Regions from separate parts of the Homo sapiens genome. Here all the other regions are linked to region 3. Evidence: promoter capture Hi-C in 16 types of primary human blood cells and fetal thymus (Javierre and others, 2016). All regions are on one chromosome and are shown on one strand. Each heading gives the region's core, a stretch centred on a gene start or on the middle of the fragment in contact. The rest is flanking DNA. Distances are from core to core; before and after follow the strand shown.

Evidence for each region. Contacts are between HindIII fragments. The CHiCAGO score rates a contact against its expected background, and 5 or more counts as called.
Region 1: a fragment that was not itself captured here is called in contact with the fragment with the promoter of IFIT1 in region 3 in 4 of 17 cell types (naive CD8 T cells, total CD8 T cells, naive CD4 T cells and 1 more); the score reaches 6.0 in naive CD8 T cells.
Region 2: a fragment that was not itself captured here is called in contact with the fragment with the promoter of IFIT1 in region 3 in 2 of 17 cell types (monocytes and M1 macrophages); the score reaches 5.3 in monocytes.

What each region holds. Positions count from the first base shown.
Region 1 is chr10:89,558,174-89,561,059 of GRCh38, reverse strand. No RefSeq gene overlaps it. Among named protein-coding and RNA genes, the nearest start is that of SLC16A12, 24 kb to the right of the region's middle. RefSeq lists an enhancer at 1,667-2,191. The HindIII fragment of the contact is 177 bases long and covers 1,452-1,628 here.
Region 2 is chr10:89,227,806-89,231,022 of GRCh38, reverse strand. It overlaps LIPA (lipase A, lysosomal acid type), which reads left to right. Exons shown (of 10, transcript NM_000235.4): 4 at 2,625-2,823. Among named protein-coding and RNA genes, the nearest start is that of CH25H, 22 kb to the right of the region's middle. The HindIII fragment of the contact is 2,654 bases long and covers 1-2,587 here.
Region 3 is chr10:89,391,320-89,394,317 of GRCh38, reverse strand. IFIT1 (interferon induced protein with tetratricopeptide repeats 1) reads right to left here and starts at 1,695. Exons shown (of 2, transcript NM_001548.5): 1 at 1,601-1,695. The coding sequence starts at 1,605. It also overlaps a transcript of LIPA not described here. RefSeq lists enhancers at 966-1,015, 1,817-1,866, 2,097-2,146 and a silencer at 2,699-2,860. The HindIII fragment of the contact is 1,915 bases long and covers 1,381-2,998 here.

The DNA of each region.
Region 1 (2,886 bases), core at 291-2,790, 170 kb before region 3:
AAAGTTGCTATAAACATCCATGTGCAGGATTTTGTGTGGACATAAATTTTTGATTAATTTGAGTAAATACCAGGGGGTGCAACTGCTGGATTATATGGTAAGAGTATGTTTAGTTTTGTAAGAAACTGACAAGCTATCTTCCAAAGTGGCTGTACGATTTTGCACTTTGCAATGAATGAGAGCTATTACTTCACATTTGTCAGTATTTGATGCTGTTAGAGTTTTGGATTTTAGCCATTCTAATAGGTATGTAGTGGTATCTCATTGTTTTAATATGCAATTCCCTAACAACATGTGATATCAAGCGTCTTTTCAATGCCTTATTTGCTATCTGTATATCATTTTTGGTGAAGTGTCTATTCAGATCTTCTTTTTATTTTTTAACTAGGTTCATTTTCTTGTTATAAGTTTTATTACAAACTTTTTATTTTTTTACTTTTTTAATTTTTAAAGATGGGGTCTCGCTATATTGCCCAGGCTGGCCTCAAATTCCCGGGCCAAAGTGATCATCTTTCCTCAGCCTCTCAAGTAGCTGGGACCACAGGTGTGCGCCACGACTCCCAGCTCATCATGGATTTTTTTTTTTTTAATTGTGGAGATTTTAGTAAATGTGGACAAGCACAGAAAAAAAAATTATATAACTCAGAAATAACCAAAACATTTTGTTTTATACCCTTTGGATCTATTTTCAGTGTACATGTATGTAAATATTGTTCTATGTCATGTATTAAAAAATTGGGATAGCATTCAACAATGTAGAAACCCTACAGTGGTTTATAAGTGTTTTCCCAATTAGTAATATTTGTATAGGTCCATGTCTTCTTTGCCACCATTTCACTCAGTTCTAGATGCTTCCCATATGTATTCCTTTGTTTCAAATTATGCCAAACTCTTCACTGTGGCTGAATGATTGAGTTGGCCTTCAATCATTCTTCCTTGAAAATCCATAATGAAGTCAAGCAATGTAAATACAGTGTGAAAAGTTTTCTGTAAATCTCTAACAGATTTTTATCAAATAATTTTTTTAAGTGTACCATAAGCTGTTCCTCATTTACATTTTTCTGACTTACAGCTTGGTGTAGTTTGGGATTTAGAGAGACTAAATTAAAATCCTGGGTCTAGGTGGTGACATATGCTATTTAACCTGCCCAATTTTATTTTTCTTACATTTAAAGATGGGAATAATAACATCTAATTTGTAGGGTTGTTGGAAGATAATGAATAGTAACCAACAACCGCCTAATTCAGTGCATTGCCTGGCATCTAGTGACCCTTCAGGATTGCTAGTAGGTATCATGTGCAAGTATGCTAAGGGGGTACTAAAATCTGACTTGGCGTTTTTATGAGTGATTGCCAATGCTATTTATTCATTCAGTAAACATTTCCTAATTATCTGTTGTGTCTATATAAGTATTTAAGTACTATGGATACCGAGACAGAAAGAAAAAGCTTTCTTGTCCTCAAGAGGCTTGCTGTCTGGTGGGCAAGGTAGAGAAGTAAAGCACCAGCTACAATGCAATGCAATAGACACTAGGATAGGGTTGTGCATAGGGTGACAAGGTGCTACGAGGGCATGCTTGTCTAATCAGGATGGGGGGCAGTTTTCCAGAGAAGGCCATAATTAAGCTTGACTTGAAGTATAAAAGGAGTCCGCTTAGGTAGACAGAGATGGCGTGGAAGGGTGAAGAACACAATCTATTTGGAGAACTGTAAAAGGTTCTATATGTAGGTATTACAGGAGTTATTAAGAAATTATTTTAGGCAGCTAGAGAGGGTAAAAGAGTCCTCAGTAAGTCTTTTTCGTTTAATAAAAAAGCGGTCCCCCAAATATTTATTATCTAACAGAAAGCAGCCTGAAAAACCAGACCTGCAAGTATTGATATGCAAATGCAGATGGTTAAGAGTCAGGTCCAGCCAATATGGCGGTTCCTGCTACTTTTTCTTTGTTGCCACGTGTACAGGTGTCATGGCGACCAGCCAGGTAGCCGCATTTGCATAATAAAAGGCTAGGGTGGGAGGGCCAGTTTTTTTGGGGGGGCTACCTGAATGACACACGTGGTTAAACCAATCCCCTGTGCCCTATGCTAATTAGACACCACCTCCTCCAGCCTCCCAATATAAACCACTGCTTTCCTCTGCACGCGGGTTTTCGGTTCAGAGCCCTCCTCCCTCTGTACGGGGAGCTATTCTCTCCTTTCTTGCCTATTAAACTTTCTACCCCTTAATCCACTCCACGTGTGTCCACGTCGCTAATTTTCACCACACGAGATAAAGGACACCGCAACTGAGCGGTGTAATAGGGAGTAACATTGCCTTGGGCAGCTGTAGGAGACGACCCCAAGAGATAGTTTCAGCAGACATCATTATCTGGGTTAGCTGTTGCCCTTGCTCTAATTCCACTTCTTTTTTTGAGTAGAATTTGAACTTCTGCCCTAGTTCATCTGTTCCAGTCGCATCAGCCTCCTTGTGTTTCCTCAAGTATACCAAGCACACTCCAAACTCAGGGTGCCTTCATTTTGCCCCTTTCTCCTTTTCCGTGCTTTCCCTCCAGATGACCACAGCCACACTCCCCTGCCTCCTTCAGGTTGCTGCGTGAATGCCACGACCCGGACCACACACTATTTTTTTTTTTTTTTTGAGACAGAGTCTCGCTCTGTCGCCCAGGCTGGAGTGCAGTGGCACAATCTCAGCTCACTGCAACCTCTGCCTCCAAAATTCAAGCGATTCTCCTGCCCAGCCTCCTGAGTAGCTGGGATTACAGGCGCCTGCCACCATGCCCAGCTAATTTTTGGATTTTTCGTAGAGATGAGGTTTCACCATGTTGGCCAGACTGGTTTCAAACTCCTGACCTCAAGTGATCCGCTTGCCTCAGCCTCCCAAAGTGCT
Region 2 (3,217 bases), core at 11-2,510, 160 kb after region 3:
TTATTTGACCACTTGACAATTAGCTTATTTCCAGTTTTTCACTGTTATAAAGAATGAGCAGAGGGCAAAGGAAGCTCTCATTTGTTCACTGTGACCCGTGTGTCAGTCACTATACTGGATACTTACCTCACTTATTCCTCTTAACAATTATTTTTGGAACTGAGACGCAGACTGGTTAAGCAACTTAATAGTATGAGTTGATATATAGTGAACTCTTACTGTGTGTCAGACTCTTTGCTACCTACTTTTCATATAATATCTCATATCTCACTGTGTCCTATAAAATGTGTATTATCATTTCTACTCTTCAGGGAATTATATTAATTTTAGGAGATGTTTCCCCAAGGTGTCATGTTAGAACTTGGAGAGGACAGAGTTGAGCCTAGGTTTGTTTGAGCTGTCTAAAACTCATGATCGGGCTGGGCGTGGTGGCTCACACCTGTAAACCCCGCACTTTGGGAAGCCGAGGTGGGTGGATCGCTTGAGTCCAGGAGTTTGAGACCAGCCTGGGAACATGGTGAAACACTGTCTCTACAAAAAACACAAAAATTAGCTGGGTGTGTTGGTGCACGCCTGAAATCCCAACTACTCAGGAGGTTGAGATGGAAGGATCACTTGAGCCCAGAAGGTGGAGGTTGCTGTGAGCAGAGATCACGCCACTGCACTCCATCCTGGGTCACAGAGCAACATCCTATCTCAATCAATCAATCAATCAAATAAGTGGATAAAACTCATGGTCAGTATAATGTCAGCTCCATGGAGGTACTTTTTTTCCTCTTGTTTTTGTTCTCTGCTGTGTTCTCAGTGCTGAGAAGAAGGCCTGGCACATAGTTGGTACTCAATAAAGGCTTGTTTCATGAATAACTGAATGGTCTCAGCGTTAGGTAAGCAGCTTGAGGTCAGGTTTCTTTGGCTCCCACATCTTTGTTTTTTCTGCTATATCACTGTCTCGGGTACAGGTGAGTAGAAAATAAATTCTCACAGGCAGACACAGACACATATATTTATGAATTTGTGTGTGTGAGCCTTTTTATCTATTTAACTTTTATTCAGCTTTAAAAATTTTTATTAAATTTTATTTTTTAAAGCAGTTTTAAGTTCATAGCAAAATTGAGTGGAAGGTACAGAGATTTCCCATACACCCTCTGCCCCCACACTCCCCTGTTATGAACATCCCTCACAGAGTGGAATTGTAATTGTTACAGCTGATGAACCTACATTCACACAAAGTCCGTAGTTTACATTAGGGTTCCCTTTTTTTTTTTTTTTTGAGACTGAGTCTCCCTCTGTCCCCTAGGCTGGAGTGCAGCAGTGCAATCTTGGCTCACTGCAACCTCTGCCTCCCGGGTTCAAGCAATTCTCCTGCCTCAGCTTCCTGAATAGCTGGGATTACAGGTGTGGGGCACCACACCCAGCTACCTTTTTTGTATTTTTAGTAGAGACAGGGTTTCGCCATGTTGGCCAGGCTAGTCTCGAACTACTGACCTCAAGTGATCCACTCGCCTCAGCCTCCCAAAGTGCTGGGATTGCAGGCATGAACCACCACACCCGGCCACTACAGTTCACTCTTGATGTTGTATATTCTATAGTTTTGGACAAATGTATGATGGCATGTGTCTACCTCTATAGTATCATGCAGAGTAGTCTTACTGCCCTGAAAAATCCTCTTTACTCTGTCTATGAATTCCTTCCTCCCTCCTAACCCCTGGCAACCAGGATCTTTTTTACTCTCTCTATAGTTTTGTCTTTTCCAGCATGTCATATAGAATGCAGCCTTTACAGATCTTGGTAATATGTATTTAAGGTTCCTCTACATCTTTTTGTGGCTTGATAGCTCATTTCCTTTTAGGGCTGAGTAATACTCCATTGTCTGGATGTAGCACAGTTTAGTTATGCATTCATTTACTGGAGCACATCTTGGTTGCTTCTAAATTTTGGCAATTATGAGTAAAACTACTATAGACATCTGTATGCAGGTTTTTGTGTAGATGTAAGTTTTCAACTCCTTTGGGTAAAATACCAAGGAATGTGATTGCTGGATTATATGGTAAGAGTATGTTTAGTTTTGTAAGAAACTGCCAAACTTTTCCAGTGTGGTGCTACCAGTTTGCATTTCCACCAGCAATGAATGAGAGTTCCTGTTCCTCCACATCCTCTTCAGCAGTTGGTGTTTTCAGCGTTTTTGGATGTTGCTCATTCTGATACGTGTATAGTGATGTCTCATTATGTGTGATCTTTTTCTTTCCTTTTGTTTATTTTGTTAGGAATTATTGTGAGAAATGCAATTACGAAAGCAAATTGTAAAAACATTTTATAAGAAAAAAATTGTAAAAACATTTTATAATTTCTTAAAAATATATTGATTTTTGTTTTTGCTGCTTACATAAGTGTGTCTTGTTAGTGGACATGCAAAAAATGGTCCAGTTTCACTGCTACCTTGCCAGTGCTGTTTTAAAAAAATTCTTTACTAACATTATATGTGAGTACATCACTATGTCAATCTTTCAATTTATTTCTAGTTCATTATTTGCTTATGGATCTTTTACGAATGTTCTATTTAGCAAGATATCATATTTGTTTTGAAGCTTGGTGCTACTGCCTCCTAAACAATGAATGTTTTTCAGGTCCCAAACCAGTTGTCTTCCTGCAACATGGCTTGCTGGCAGATTCTAGTAACTGGGTCACAAACCTTGCCAACAGCAGCCTGGGCTTCATTCTTGCTGATGCTGGTTTTGACGTGTGGATGGGCAACAGCAGAGGAAATACCTGGTCTCGGAAACATAAGACACTCTCAGTTTCTCAGGATGAATTCTGGGCTTTCAGGTATATATGAATTGATAATGGCATGGATGTATTTCCTTAGTACTCTTAAAGCAGACAACAGGCTTCCAGCAGAAGAGGTAGATAGGTGGTAACTCTGAAGTTGTATGAGAGGGGAAGTTAGTGTCTTTTGAAAGGTTTTAAATGTTGCTAGGAATTTAATGACTAGCAGTAAGGTAAATTATAAGTAAATGATTACATTAAGATTTACATTTAGTTAGGAATTCTTAAGTTACTTCGGCATTTCTGGTGGTGTGGGTGCTGCTGGGTAAACGTTATTCCATAACTTTCCTCCTTTCTCCATAAATATGTAATCCAGATGTTCACTTTTCTTCTTTCCAGAAATTATCCTTTCCTCCCTCTTCCTTCTGGCTCCACCAGTTAATTGCTGTATGAC
Region 3 (2,998 bases), core at 446-2,945:
GATATTTTAGTCCACAAAGGACCACATATTTGGTGGTGGTCCTATAAGATTTTAATGCCACAATTTTGCTGTACTCTATGTTTAAATATGTTTAGATAAACAAATACTTGCCATTGTATTGCAGTTGCCTACAGTATTCAGTACAGTAACATGCTGCACAGGTTTATAGCCTAGGTGTGTAGTAGGCTATACCGTCTAGGTTTGATGTTTGCATAATGATGAAATTGCCTAACAGCTGCATTTCTCAGAGTGTATCCCCATTGTTACACGATGCATGACTGTGTAAGTACCTGCCTTATAAGTATCTTTTGAGAATTAAATGGAATAATTTACATAACACTTTTAGAAGCCAGGCTGTCACTTAATACGAATTCAAGAAGTGATAACTACCTTTATAACATTTAATATTATTATTATTTTAATTATCAGTACCAACTCCATCTGTTTACAGAGGAGGGTTCATCATAGGCCTGTAATGTGCATTTTCTGGAATTTTTACCTCTTCAAAATTTTGCCAACTGGAGCACTGAGGGGAAAATTTACAAATCAGTATTAAGTAATGGATTTTTTGTTTGTTTGTTTGTTTTTGAGACGGAGTCTCGCTCTGTTGCCCAGGCTGGAGTGCAGTGGTACAATCTCAGCTCACTGCAACTTACGCCTCCCAGGTTCAAGTGATTCTCCTGCCTCAGCCTCCCAAGTAGCTGGGACTACAGGCATGTGCCACCATGCCCAAATTTTTGTATTTTTAGTAGAGATGGGGTTTCACCATGTTGGCCAGGATGGGCTCCAACTCCTGACCTCAGGCGATCTGCTCACCTTGGCCTCCCAAAGTGCTGGGATTACAAGCATGAGCCCCCTTGCCCGGCCTAAGTAATGGTTTTTAAATCAGCTGAGAAATTCCCACATTAGGCCCTTTAGGTAAGGAAGATACGGATCTTCCCAAGCAGATGTGGATCATCTTCAGTCAAGGACGTACCAAGAGCCTAGATTTTCCAGGGAGGAGGCAATCTGTTTATCTTAAGCTCAGCCTGATTGCGAAAACCTGTTGTAAGAGGCCAGCAGTGCAGAAAGTGAGACCAGAAGCCTATGGAGGAAGGCTGTGAGCTTTTCCTACCACATCTCCACTGTATTACCCACAAGACATCAGAGAGGCTGCAAGACTGAGGCTTTCACATTCTTGTGGGTCCTGCTTTTTCTCTGTGGTAAAGAACCTGCAGAAAGCAATGCCTCTACTCAGACAAGCTGTCCATTCCTTCCCCATATCAGACAGAAGTGAATCTGATGGGAAAGAATCTCTCAGATTGGGATCATTTTCTCCCTTCCTGCAAAACTCTTTTCCCATTTCCCTCCCCTTCTTTGGGCTATAGCATGAGGTAAGCTTCCTCAAGTTCATGCTAACAAACATAAAAATGCATTAAACAATTTATGTATGTGTGAACGTGCACACACATGCATGCACACATTCAGTCCATAAGCAGATACTCAAATCGAGGAATTAGAAAACCTGACCTCACTGAGATCTAACCTGTTGAAATAGTATTTAATTACCATTTTTTCAAAAACTTTAGACATTATGGCAGAGGAGCAAAGAAATCCTTACCTCATGGTTGCTGTAAATTAGGCAGCCGTTCTGCAGGGTTTTGCTTAGCCAGGCTCCTCTGAGATCTGGCTATTCTGTCTTGTGGATTTTCAGTTACGTTTAAACCCCAAGACAGTGTTATATAAGGGAGCTAAACAGCAGCCAATGGTGTAAGCTGTGGGTGTGTCCTTGCAAGTTGGAAACCTAGGGAAACCGAAAGGGGAAAGTGAAACTAAAGCTAGCGGAATTCCTGCTGACGGGGGGGGGTGGGGAATGAAACTTTGTTTCTATTTTAAAACAGATAAACTGCAGACCTGCAACCATAGATGTTTCTAGTGCTGCAGAAACCCAATGACTGGCCAGCATTTGGAACGAGATTCACGTCCTCCCTAAAGAACATCAGTCCATTGCTGCCTATTGTGGCAGTTGGTGGCTGGATTCTGGATGAATACACAGAAAAAGGAGAATTGAAGGAGATAGCTCTATTTTCAGTTTCTATATTTAGAAGGAACCTACTATCAAATATAAAAATCTACTCTTAATTAATTGAGTAACAAGGCTTTTGGTTGCTGGTTGCTTTTTGGTTGCTTACTTTTGGTTTCAGCTTGACGGAAATAAGCAACCAATCTGGTTTAGGAATGAAGGAAAGAGACCAATACCTAGAAAGCCTTCTAACCCCTGATGACTTAGGCAGGAGGTAAAAGCAAGGAGGTATGGTTTGAAATAGAGAGCCCTCTATTGCTCCATCATGGACACTGTCATTCTGAATCAAATTCCAGTACAACCTCCACTACAGTTCATGGAATTTGAGTTTAAATAGTTAGCAACTACCTGGCACATAGAAGCATGCAAATAAGTGGTAACTATTATTATTATTATTTTCAGTCATCAAGTTAAAAATAATGATTCTTGGCTGGGTGCGGTGGCTCATGCCTGTAGTCCCAGCACTTTGGGAGGCCAAGGTGGGCGGATGACAAGGTCAGGAGATGGAGACCATCGTGGCCAACATGGTGAAACCCCCTCTCTACTAAAATACAAAAAATTAGCTGGGTGTGGTGGTGTGCACCTGTAGTCCCACCTACTCGAGAGGCTGAGGCAGGGGAATTGCTTGAACCTGGGAGGCAGAGGTTGCAGTGAGCCGAGATCACACCACTGTACTCCAGTCTGGTGACAGAGCGAGACTCCGTCTAAAAAAATAAATAAATAAAAAATAAAAAATTGTTGTCCGGGTGCATTGGCTCAGGCCTGTAAGTCCCAGTATTTTGGAAGGCAAGGCGGGAGGATCACTTGAGCCCAGGAATTGTAGACCAGCCTGGACAACATAGGGAGACCCCAACTCTACAAAAAAACTGAAAAAAAAAGCTGGGTGTGGTGGTGTGTGTCTGTGGTCTCAGCTACTCAGGAGGCTGAGGTGGGAGG